Linked DNA regions of Homo sapiens: regions 1 and 2 are each linked to region 3. Evidence: promoter capture Hi-C in 16 types of primary human blood cells and fetal thymus (Javierre and others, 2016). All regions are on one chromosome and are shown on one strand. Each heading gives the region's core, a stretch centred on a gene start or on the middle of the fragment in contact. The rest is flanking DNA. Distances are from core to core; before and after follow the strand shown.

Region 1 (4,172 bases), core at 1,319-3,818, 310 kb after region 3:
TGCTTGTTCAGTCAATAAATGCTACTGGGCATCTCCTGTGGCGGGAGCTGAAGAGACACTGGGAGATTTAACAATATCTGTGATGTGGTTTCTGTCCTTAAGAGCCTTGGGGTAGGCACATATATATTTAATAAAATGTATCAAGTGATACGTCTGCATAAGAGACACACAGATTGCTCTTAGACATTCAGATTAGAGCAAGACTGCATCTGGCTGGAGTCAGGTATAGAACTTCAATGAGAGGAATGGCATAGTAGGAACGCAGATAGGGCTTTTGTTTTGGTGCACTCTTCCTGCAACCTTTTTCATTCAGACAATGATTTCATTTGTTTTCATTTGACATAATACCCACCAAATTCAACTTGACCCCAAAGAATCCTTTAGAGCTGGTTTCTTTTTTTTTTTTTTTTTTGAGACAGAGTCTTGCTCTGTCACCCAGGCTAAAGTGCAGTGGTGCGATCTCGGCTCACTGCCAGCTCCGTCTCCCAGGTTCACACCATTCTCCTGCCTCAGACTCCTGAGTAGCTGGGACTACAGACACCCGCCACCACGCCCGGCTAATTTTTTGTATTTTTAGTAGAGACAGGGTTTCACCGTTAGCCAGGATGGTCTCGATCTCCTGACCTCGTGATCCACCCGCCTCGGCCTCCCAAAGTGCTGGGATTACAGGCGTGAGCCACCGCGCCCGGCCGTGGAGCTGGTTTCATCCATACCAACATCCAGTCCAGGACGGGTGAGACCCTGGAAACGAACATGCTCAGTGAAGGGCTGTGTGACAAGGTCAGGGGAATGGCAGCCTGGGTCTGAGGCTCAGGGAAACTTGAACCTTAAGACTGGAGGAGAAAAAAAAGCTGTCAAGGAAACTAAATAAGAAAGGCTGGTGTCACAGAATTCAAGAAAAAGGGTGCTTTAAGAATTGGGTATTTGGCTAGGCGCAGTGGCTCACGCCTGTAATCCCAGCACTTTGGGAGGCCGGGGCAGGTGGATCACAAGGTCAAGAGATCGAGACCATCCTGAACAACACGGTGAAACCCCGTCTCTACCAAAAATACAAAATTAGCCGGGCGTGGTGGCACGAGCCTGTAGTCCCGGCTACTTGGGAGGCTGAGGCAGGAGAATCACTTGAACCCGGGAAGTGGGGGTTGCAGTGAGCCGAGATCGCACCACTGCACTCCAGTCTGGTGACAGAGCGAGACTCCGTCTCAAAAAAAAAAAAAAAAAGAAAAGAAAAAGAATTGGGTATTCAGCAAAGTCAAATGCTACAGAGAAGTTAGAAAGAATTAAAATTAAATAACTGTGTTTGCTATGCAAAACCTCAGGGGACAATGTTAAATTCAAATCAACCACAAAGCATTATGATTTTGAATAGTTTATGATACCCAACATCTTATTCCTATTCATACCTATCTACTCACCCACATACCTCCAACACTTTTAGTCCATAAGCTACTAGACTGCAATTGAGTACACACCCCAACAGGAAGAAATTTGACAAGCAGGGTCAGTAGTAGTTTCAATGGAATGACCCCAAGAAGTTTCATTTTTTGAGGTTTTAAAATCAGATCTAGATAGGCCTGTTCGACCAGTAATTCCTTCATTCATGTCTGTGTCATCTCTACTGATAACTTCAGTTCCAGCGCATCTACAGTTAGCAAAAAGTTCTTATAAATCATGTCCTTCCTCTTCAGGTGTTTTGTTCACCAGAATTTTGCCATGTTTGGGAGATTTGGGGGAGCATCACAAAATATTATTCTGTAAATAGGCTTTGTTTTGTTTTGTTTGAGACAGAGTTTTGCTCTGTCGCCTAGGCTGGAGTGCAGTGGCGTGATCTCAGCTCACTGCAACCTCTGTCTTCTGAGTTCAAGCGATTCTCCTGCCTCAGTCTCCCGAGTAGCTGAGATTACAGGTGCCTGCCACCATGCCCAGCTAATTTTTGTATTTTTAGTAGAGACGGGGTTTCACCATGTTGGCCAGGCTAGTCTTGAACTCCTGACCTCAGTTGATCCTCCCACCTCAGCCTCCCAAAGTGCTGGGATTACAGGTGTGAGCCACTGTGCCCAGCCACCATAAAAACCCATACATAGGTTTTTATGATCAGAGCAAAAGTTTTATAACTTTCAAATCACACCCACACTGTTTATTATAAATACTAGTGACTTGCAAAGCTATATTTTATTTTTTTCTTATTGACTAGCCTACTGGCATAAGATTACTCATCCTAGATGAGACTGTTACTGCCAGGAGATGTTTTTATTTTTTTTGAGACAGGTTCTTGCTCTGTTCCCCAGGCTGGCTGGAGTGCAGTGGCCCAATCACGGTTCACTGCAACCTCGACCTCCTGGGCTTAAGTGATCCTCCCACCTCAACCTCCTGAGAAGCTGGGACTATAGGTGTGCAACACCACACTCAGCTCATTTAAAAATTATTTGTACAGATGAGGTCTCACCATGTTGCTCAGGCTGGTCTCTAACTCCTGGACTCAAGCAACCCACCTGCCTCGGCCTCCCAAGGTGCTAGGATTGGCTAGGCGCAGTGGCTCACACCTGTAATCCCAGAACTTTGGGAGGCTGAGATGGGCAGATCACCTGAGGCCAGGAGTTCAAAACCACCCTGGCCAACATGGCAAAACCCTGTCTCTACCAAAAATACAAAAATTAGCCAGGCATGGTGGTGGGCGCCTGTAATCCCAGCTACTCAGGATGCTGAGGTGGGAGAATCGCCTGAACCCGAGAGGCACAGGTTGCAGTGAGCTGAGGTCATGCCACTGTACTCCAGCCTGGGCGAAAAGAGCAAAACTCCGTCTAAAAAAAAAAAATCAGAAAAGCCAAGAGCATTGGATGGGCACAGCGGCTCATGCCTGTAATCCCAGCACTTTGGGAGGCCAAGGTGTGTGGATCACTTGAGGTCAGGAGTTCAAGACTAGCCTGGCCAACATGGTGAAACCCCATCTCTACTAAAAATACACACACACACAAAAATTAGCTGGGCATGGTGGTGGGCGCCTGTAATCCCAGCTACTCAGGAGGCTGAAGCAGGAGAATCGCTTGAACCCAGGAAGCGGAGGTTGCAGTGAGCTGAGATCATGCCACTGGACTCCAGCCTGGGTGACAGAGCAAGACTCCAAAAAAAAAAAAGGAAAAGAATAGCTAAGAGCATAACTCTGGAGTCAGGCTGCCAGAATTCAAATTCTGGGGCACCTCATGCTGGCAATGCAACCTCTCAAATTCCTTACTTTATCTAATAATATAGGGTAATTATAGTGTGCACACCATAAGATTTTTGTAAGGTAAATGAAATGATACAGGTCAAATCGTACTTAGAAGAGTATCTAGTGAGTTCTCAATAAATGTTAGCTATTGTTATTGTTAAATATCCCACATGTATGTTCAATATTATTGAAATGTCATTTTATTTAAGCACTGAAAAAAATATTGTTTTTAAATGATATTTTGAGAGTGCAGTTTTAATAAAAAGTGAGGGCAGAAAGAAATGTCTGCTTATCAACCGGGGAGCGTAGAAAAAGAAGTTTCGCCTAAAAGAAAGACTTTAGACATCACCCCTACCCTTTTTGTGTAGCTTCTCCCAGTTATAATTATTTTGGTGAATTTGGCAACCGTATTCACACAAATGCTGGAGGAGGCCAGGATCTGGCTGCTCCTGTGTGTAAGGGAGGCAGATGCCTTGGCCGTGACCCATGGCTAAAGCTCAGGGGGAATCAGGTCACAGGCCTGCCTGTCCTCCCACCTCTGGGGTTTTAGTGTAAATACAAAATTGGATTAAACATCATTTTCTGCAGATGTAGCTTCATATAGATAATCTCTATGCGTGCAGGCAAAGACCACATTAGAGGGCCTTCTCTCCACAACCCGGTGCTAATGCTAGTCAGGTTTGGGGGTGCTGAGGACCCCTAATGTGCATTCCTGGACGATGGGTCTCGCTTCATCAGCACGATTTCCCCTCTCCTAACAGCTCTCTGGTTGCTAAGAGATTGTTTTCAGATCTAAGGGCTCACTCTTTGTCCTATTCCAGACCACAGCAGGGTTTACTTTCCCTCTTATGAGTTTGCCAGGAGCAAAAAGTAACATCCCAACCTCCTGTCAACTCAACAAGAGATTTATTGCAATTAACTAAAAGGACACTTGTTACTACAGGAATACCATATGCTTCAGCAA
Region 2 (4,120 bases), core at 1,432-3,931, 270 kb after region 3:
TAAGTTGGCACTGGATTTAATAGCTTGGGTAAGAGAGTTTCTAAGATATCAGGAGTTACCAGTGGACTCCTCCCCCAAAAGAATGTGTGAGGACAAGAGCCAGCATCACATCAGTGAGAGCTGGCCCAGTATAAATGACCACCATGCTTGATTGCTGCTACTACTCTTTTGGACCCAGAAGGACAACTCCCCATCACTTTGGGCTGAAGGACATGTCTCTAGGATAAAATGAACGAACAAGCAGCTCACAGGTTACCCAGCACCAAGCTTATTTGATACAGGAGCACGGGCTGTGGACCAAGCCTACTGGATGGATACGCAGTGAGGAGAGAGGGAAGCAGTGAGGGGGGTCGGTGGCTCACAAACAACGTGTATTGGGATAGGCGGGGGAAAGAGTATTCCTGACTTACAGACTGGGGTAGGGGGTGGGGAAAGGAGCAAACAAAGCAAGTGGCTTCATCAACATCCCAGAGGGAAAGGCAGGCTTTGGAAAAGAACCAAGTGTTTGGAAGTTGACGAGGAGGGTCCACAGCCAGGGACCGCGCAGTAGAGACGACAGAGGAACGCGACCTTTTTTTCTAAGTGCATCTGAACTTGCCTTTACTTCGGGGCTCCCAGTCCCCATCCTCTGGGTCAACCTAGCAGATCTTCTTGAAGGCTGACACCCTTCACATACCTGTAGGTAGTTCTCCTCCCCACCCTGACCCCTGACCCCTAGTTCCAGTGGGACTGTCCTCCACTGTAGTCATACAAGGAGTCTGCCTCATCTGCCCCTGTGCCTCAGCCACAGCCCACTGTGAATCACTCGGCTCCAAATTAAAACTCCTTCCCTCTCCGGAGTGGTCTTTTCTTCCTTCTGCCATCTACTGGTGAAAACAAGAATGTCTTATTTTCTTACCTGCCTGTTGCCAATTTGAAAATAGCTTGGAACCTGAAAGTTCATTTGCATAGTACTTACTTGTTGTGTGGAACATACTGCATGAGTAATATGGAATTACACATATATACATACACACACACACACACATAACAAACAGTGTATTTAGTGTAAAGGGCAGAGGCTTGGAATCCAATTTGGCTTCAAATTTTTACTTAGCCCTTTACCAGCTGTATGATCTGGGTACGCTGCCAGTCTTCATCTATGCTAAAAGCCACAATTAATGATCATTATAATGACTAACACTTACTGATTGTTATCATGAGCCACAGTATAGTTCATTTAACTTCACAATGCTGTACTATAACTGTGTGTCTTCAGATAAGAAGGTTGAAACACAGGAAGGTTTAACAACTTGTCCAAAGTCTCACAGTTAGTCAGGGGCCGATTTGGCAAACTGGCTCCATAGCTCATATTGGGAACAATAATATCGACTGTTCGGGATTGTTCAAAGAACTAGAAATAATACAGGTCAAGCCGCCTGACACATCTTAGGTTTCAGAAAATGACAGATATTGAACATTTACTGCGTATGGGCCCTGTATGATATTAGTAATATCCACAAATTAGGCGCGGTCCCTGCCTAGTAGGAAGCACAATCACTATACAATACTAAGGCTAAGTTCAGCAAAAATAGCATCTGACTCTTTTTTCAGTATTGGTTTCCTAGTATCTGGCACACTGGCTAGGATATGGTGGACACTGGAAGGGAAGGAGGAAAGAAACAGAATTTTAAAAACTAGGTTCGAGATTCTGTGAGGCAGGCCAGGTGTGGTGGCTCACACCTGTAATCCTAGAACTTTGGGAGGCCGAGGCAGATGGATCACCTGAGGTCGGGAGTTCGAGACCAGCCTGACAAACATGGCACCCTGCCTCTATTAAAAATACAAAAATTAGCCCGGCATGGTGGCACATGCCTGTAATTCCAGCTACTTGGGAGGCTGAGGTGGGAGAATTGCTTGAATCTGGGAGGTGGAGGTTGCAGTGAGCCAAGATTGCACCATTGCACTTCAGCCTGGGTGACAGAGACTCCATCTCAAAAAAAAAAAAAAAAAAGATTCTGTGACAGAGATAGGCTTGACGGTCTTCTTTCCATATTAACAAATGAGAAAACTCAAGGTTCAGAGAGGTTTAGTAACTCCCACAAGGTCACACAGCAACAGTGAACAGTCCGATGACTTACACTTTCCCCACCTGTTCCTTTCCCAATTCCTCCTGCTCCTTCCGGCCTCTTTGACGGCACTGGCAGATGATTGAAGGGTGACAGTGACAGGAGACATCCTTTGTGTTTGGATGGTATAAGGGGATGGATGGCTACGAGCAAACAAAAGCTCCAAGACTCTGAGCAGACCTTGGGGCCCACCTCCTAGAGACTGCATGGTTCCAGAGGAGCCCATTTTCTTCCTGTCTCCTTTCCACTTGGCACCAATCAGCTCTTCACTTCAGGTGAGACTGTTCAGTGCTATTTCCCAGACTTCAAGTTTCTGCAGTTATTTTTAGCGGTAGTTTTAGTGCATACCTGGGATAGGTGAGGCATGAAAAGGAATGCGGGTGTGGGTAACCCTTCAATCTCTAGAGTTATGGTCTGAGTCTCTTGTCATTCCAGCTAAAGAGGGGTGACTCACACCCTGATTTCTTACCTGCCCAGAGGCTAGATTTCACCCTAAGAACCATGTGGATTAGAATGTCTTGTATATTCTCTTAGTTTTAAGGACACAGTTTCTTGATGTTGCTTTGTTACCCACTTTTGATAACTTGGATCCTTTCATTTTCTGTAACCAACACCACAGCCTGTGGTTCTTTCTGGTCCTATTTCCCAGGGTTTTGAGGGACCCAAGGTAGATAAAGTCTCCAATTTAGGTTTGTGGATGCCTCTGCAGGCAGAAAGCTACTTGGAAAACACTCTGTCTGTAAGCAAGATGTCCTTAAAGAGCCAGCCAAGTTCTGGGATATTCATTGCATTTTTTGAGAGACTGAGAAAGAATAATCATGATCTAGTTGGTCTAGGCCCCTCTTAGCAACTACAATCCCCTCAGAGTGCCCTCAGAGAACCTGCTTCATGGTTCCCTGGAATTCTGGGCCTGCTTTAAGCCTGAAATAGCCTATCCAACTGAAACCCTCTCACTAGGATCCTAGGACCCCTTCATAAGATAGAGAGGTGTTTTCCTCATTCTCACCCTCACTCAGCTCTGTACAGAGGAAGTAAAACTAGGCTAGCCAGTACCATGAAGCCATTGTTACTGCAACTGCATACAATGAATACTATATAAATCAGTTTTATAATTCAGATGAGAAATAAGAAGACATTTTCTCTGGGCTGATATCATATGACTATTCCAAGATACTCCCTTTATTAAGTCATAAAAGTTAGATGTATCTGTTTACAATTAGGGTGGGAGAAGATTGTTTTGAAGCTCACAGTTTCTTTTTTTTTTTTTTTGAGATGGAGTCTCGCTCTGTCGCCCACGCTGGAGTGCAGTGGTGCGATCTCGGCTTACCGCAAGCTCTGCCTTCCGGGTTCACGCCATTCTCCTGCCTCAGCCTCCCCAGCAGCTGGGACTACAGGCGCCCGCCAACACGCCTGGCTAATTTTTTTGTATTTTTAGTAGAGACAGGGTTTCACCGTGTTAGCCAGGATGGTCTCAATCTCCTGACCTTGTGATCCGCCCGCCTCGGCCTCCCAAAGTGCTGGGATTAGAGGCGTGAGCCACCGCGCCCGGCCGGCGAAGCTCACAGTTTCTTAAATCAGGAATGCAGAACTAAGGAGTTGTACCAAGAAGGGAATAGCAGAGGGGTCAGGGACCTCGTTCCCCACTCCTAATCTAGAGCTTTTGGTATCTTGACTGCAAAGGCAATTTACATGTATTTAAGAGAATGACATTTTAACGTTCTTCTATACTCCTATTAATACCTAACCAAATACTTCTGAAGACCCATCTCCTGTCTTCTCCACACTTTGTAACTAGTTCTCCCCACCATTTTATTCCGTAATTGCAACCTTAAACCCCGCAGAATGTAGCAGAGTCCACAAAGATGCCTTGTACTGGGCTGAATAGTATCCCACGAAAAGTCATGTCTACCCATGTATTAATCTGTTTTCATGCTGCTGATAAAGACATACCTGAGACTGGGTAATTTACAAAGAAAAAGAGGTTTAATGGATTCACAGTTCCACGTGGCTGG
Region 3 (4,252 bases), core at 37-2,536:
CTTGATCAATTTAAGATGTGCCAAAAATAAGGCATGTTGTTCCATTGGGGAAGTTATTGGCACTTCGAGATCCGATGTTCTCTCTTAGATACTTCCTTAGGTAGTTTAGGTCATTAAATAAAATAATAAATATTTCTTGAGCAGCTACTATGCCCTTGGCACTATATTAAGCACGATAGAAGTAAAAAACCAGATTCTGTCCTCAAGCAGCTTAGAATTTCACGAGAGAAACAGACTAACACACCAAAAGCAAAGCAGGCATGCTGTATGAGCAAAGAGGAAATGGGGAGTAAGGAGGGCTAGAGCCACAAGGTAGTGAGACTGGAATCATGTGCCCTGAGGTTGTGTAAGATTTAGGCAGGGCAGCAAGGAGAAGGAAGGGATCCCAGTGAGGGGAACCCTGGCAAAAGCTCAGAGGAGGACTGAGTGTGACAGGTTTCACAGGGCAGAGGGCCCCATCCAGACTGTTAGCTGGAATCCTGGATGAGGCCCTCTTCCAGTCTCCGAGAGTTATGCCTCCATATTAACAGTCCCCAAACACTAATTATGTATTCATTAAAATGATGTTAGTGAATGTTTGCTGGGTTTCCAGATACTAGCCCTTTAGAATGGTAATTTCTGTACATTGTTACCTTTTCAGGGAATGGCCTTGAGTTGTGCCATCCAATACAGTAGCTACTTGCCATGTGTGGCTGTGGAGCCCTTATGATATGGATAGTGCAACTGAGCAACTGAATTTCTAATTTTATGTAATTTGAATTCACTAAATTTTAATTTTAAAATGAAAGTAGTATAAAATATTTTTCATTAAACCCAACTTTATTGTGTGGGGAGGGCTACATTTTAAACATAGTATTGTATAACATATGATTGCTGTATCACAGTATGTGTGTCCAATTTACTTTTTTTAATGTGGCTACCAGAAAATTTTAAATGACATATGCTGCCCACATTGCATTTTGCTTTGACAGCACTGGTCTAGAGTCTCACAACTCAGTGTGGTCTGGCTGGACTCACGTGAGAGCCATCCCAGACTCTGCACTTGACTAAGTCAGGATCTGCACTTGACTAAGTTCCCCAGGTGAATCTTATGCACAATAAGATAAGCACTGATCTGGACGACCTCAGAAGACATCCAGCCACTGGTAGGTACCCAGCATGACCCCCCCCAATCCTTATGGGAGGAGGCTGAGGGAGCAACAGGGAGACCCCTGACTGCCGTTGTGACATCACAGAATAAACCCCACGGGTCACCCAACCCCGCCCTGGCTGGTGTCTGGCCCTCAGGACATCCTCTCCAATCCACCACACACCACCTTACCCCTCTGCTGGCAAGAGGGGACCTGATTCATCCTCACGCTAAACACTCATTCTACCCAACTGATTGAGACAGAACAGAAGATAAACTGAAACTTCTCTGCCTTCCCGCTGCAAGAGTGAATGAGCGATCCCTCTCAACTGACTCAAAATGTTTGCCTCACCCAGGAGGTAGGTACAGTGATTTTGAAATCTCATGAACATCTCATACACATATCTTTACTGCTGGATTTGTAACACAGGTTACACTAACTCATCAATTTCATGTATTTCACATGGTCACAGTAAAGAGCTTGGAAATGCACTATAGGGTTCTACAAAATGGAATGAAAATGTGTCACTCAGCCCAGTTTTCATAGATAAAACTGGTATGTCCATACCTTGGCCTATTACCTTTTCATCTTCCTTCATTAAAACTTCCATTTCTTCTTCCCTTGTCTCATCATCTTCCTTCTCCTTTCTGTTCCCAGGGCTCCCTATGCCTCTCCTTTTTTCCTTTCATCTGCATTATTCCCGTTGCCAAAATCTGGAGCCTGGTAAAGGCCCAGTAGCGGTGGCAACAATAGAGCTGTGTGTCACCCCAGTGAGCTGAAAGAGCAGACATCAAGCTCTATGCCAGAGAACAGTGGGGCATCCCCAAGGTCCTGCTGGAAGGCAGCTCTGATCTGGAACTGGGAAGGACAACACACAGTCAAGCTCTTTCTCGTCTCAGAGAATCCAGCAGAATCTTCAGGGATCCTTCCAGACCAGGAAGACTCTCACACTCTGCAGAGAAGTTGCGGCTTGTTTAGCATTTGACCTACATTCAGAAACGACCAGCCTCCCAACTTTCAGCTCTAAGGATTACTTAAAAAAACAAATGGTGTTCATTCTCAGATATCTTGCCTTTCTCAGGAGAGAAAAATGAAGCTTGCAATTAGCCAGCAAACTAGCACATACACAAACACACACACACGTACATACACTCCAACACAGGGAGCAATGTGGTATGTTGTTGACCAGCTGGAAGTTAGGATCTCAAAGGAAAGAACAGGATAACTTAAGAGGCACTTCTGGGACTGCAGAGCTGAGCTGGTGGTTCTGAAGAGCCATCGGAGTGTGGGTTCAGGCAGCTTCCCTAATTCAGAAGCAGCCCCAAGTGAATAGATGACAAAGAAGTGGATGTGAACATGACAGAAAAAGCCAGTCATGGCTTAGAATAAATTTTATTATTGTTCTTTATCAGTGGTTTTCCAGGAGAGACACAGAGGGAATATGGGAGCGTCTGGTTGCTAATATGTACCTGAGAAGTATAAAGTACACTTAATCCATTGCCTCAATCTGCAGGAGGTCCCATAAATCTGGCCTGCAATCTGTACATTTTGTTAAAGGTGACTGTGCCTTGGCTTTTACTGAGTGGCAGCCTGGTGATGAGTCAGGCGAACAGTCCTCAAAGATTGCCAGTGTTGACTTTACCATTTACTAGCTTTGTGGCCTTGAGCAAGTCAAACCCTCCGAATCGGAACCCTCACTTGTAGAATGGGGATGCCACGTCCCTTTCAGGCTGGTTGTGAGGATTAAGGAAGATGTCTGAAGGGTCTAGCAAGGTGTCTGCTGGTAGCACAGGTGCACTTCCCCTTCGTTTCTGCTTAGAGGCACTCTTCTTCTACCTGTTTTCGATTTTCACAGAACTAAGAAGGACAACTCTTTGCCCTCATTTACCCCTGAGGGTAAATTTAACCCTCTGGGAGGTTAAGTAACTTGGCCAAAATCCTCAGTGCAGTCGTGCATTGGGTCGTAAATAGAACTCGGATCTGCTGAGGGGTCTGGGTGGTGAAGTCCCGCCCTGGGGTCTTCCCAATGAGACGCAGACATCCCCTTCCCTTAGAACGGGAGCCTGGGACCCATAGCTTTACCGGGCAGAGGCAGGGAAATGCCTGACTTTGGACTCCAGCAGCTCGACACATCCCGAGCCCTGGCCCACCGGCCTGGGTGTAAGGAATCCCTCCGACTACCCAGTCTCTCCGCCCTCCCGCGCAGCCTCGCCAGGCGGCAGAGGGGACGCGCCTCAGGTGGCCTAGCGCCCCGGCCCAGCTCCGGGACACATGTGGCCCCGCCCTCCGCGGCTCGCCGGGTCCCTGGCCTGCCCTGGCAGTCCCTGCTCTCTGGGAGGGCCCCCGGGACACCGTTCTCAACCGACGGAGGAAGACCCAGAGGAAGAAACAGCCCGGGTACCCCCGCCCGACCCGGTCAGGAAGCCATGGGTGGTTGGCGGCCGCGGGGCGGGGCCTCGCAAACAATGCCAAACACGGCCGGCCTGTCGCCGCGGCAACGCGCCCCGCTGCTAGGCGACCGGGCGCCGTAGTAAACGGGAGAGACGGCGCGTTACTCATCAGGGTGGGAGGGCGCGCTCGGAAGTGGAGATGGCGCGGCCCAGGCACCCCCGAGAGGCCCCACCCGTTACGCCCCCGCCCCGCCCCGCGGTCCCCAAGCGCCCCCGGCCCCAGCCGGCCTGCTGGCGCCGTCACCCGCGCGTGAGCGATTGCCCCACAGGATGTGCAGATGTGGCTGCCCCTCTGATTCACTCCAGCTGCTTGGGGCCTGGAAGAAAGGCGGCTTCCTCTCCTGGAAATGACTGCATTAGCAAAAGTCCTCAAACAATTCCATTAAAAGGCGGAAAGGGAAAGACGAGAACGAGGCCCCGATACGCTTTTCCAGGGTCCTTCCCACTGAATTGAAGTGTTCCCAAAACTCGGGACCTACGTTAGGAAGACTAGAGTCATTTGATTGTGCGACCATTTGAGGTGATGTGGCCCCTTAAACGTGGTTACAGCTGAGAATAAATCCCGGAGCTAAGTGCCCTACAGTGATGTAGTCATTTTGAACACTAAGCACGGGCATTTTGGTGGCATTACTCTTCCCTTCCGGGCTGGGAAACAAATGTGAAAATGTCCCG

Evidence for each region. Contacts are between HindIII fragments. The CHiCAGO score rates a contact against its expected background, and 5 or more counts as called.
Region 1: a fragment that was not itself captured here is called in contact with the fragment with the promoter of GSG1 in region 3 in 4 of 17 cell types (naive CD4 T cells, naive CD8 T cells, total B cells and 1 more); the score reaches 7.3 in naive CD4 T cells.
Region 2: a contact is called between a fragment that was not itself captured here and the fragment with the promoter of GSG1 in region 3, in 1 of 17 cell types (naive CD4 T cells). The highest score is 5.5, in naive CD4 T cells.

What each region holds. Positions count from the first base shown.
Region 1 is chr12:12,792,178-12,796,349 of GRCh38, reverse strand. No RefSeq gene overlaps it. Among named protein-coding and RNA genes, the nearest start is that of APOLD1, 8.6 kb to the right of the region's middle. The HindIII fragment of the contact is 8,759 bases long and covers 1-4,172 here.
Region 2 is chr12:12,833,920-12,838,039 of GRCh38, reverse strand. No RefSeq gene overlaps it. Among named protein-coding and RNA genes, the nearest start is that of DDX47, 23 kb to the right of the region's middle. RefSeq lists an enhancer at 1,954-3,153. The HindIII fragment of the contact is 4,823 bases long and covers 270-4,120 here.
Region 3 is chr12:13,100,701-13,104,952 of GRCh38, reverse strand. It overlaps GSG1 (germ cell associated 1), which reads left to right and starts at 1,286. Exons shown (of 7, transcript NM_001080555.4): 1 at 1,286-1,488. The coding sequence starts at 1,441. LOC105369666 (a long non-coding RNA gene) reads right to left here and starts at 3,523. Exons shown (of 2, transcript XR_931369.3): 1 at 3,213-3,523; 2 at 2,507-2,966. RefSeq lists silencers at 3,348-3,397, 3,678-3,907. The HindIII fragment of the contact is 5,406 bases long and covers 1-2,228 here.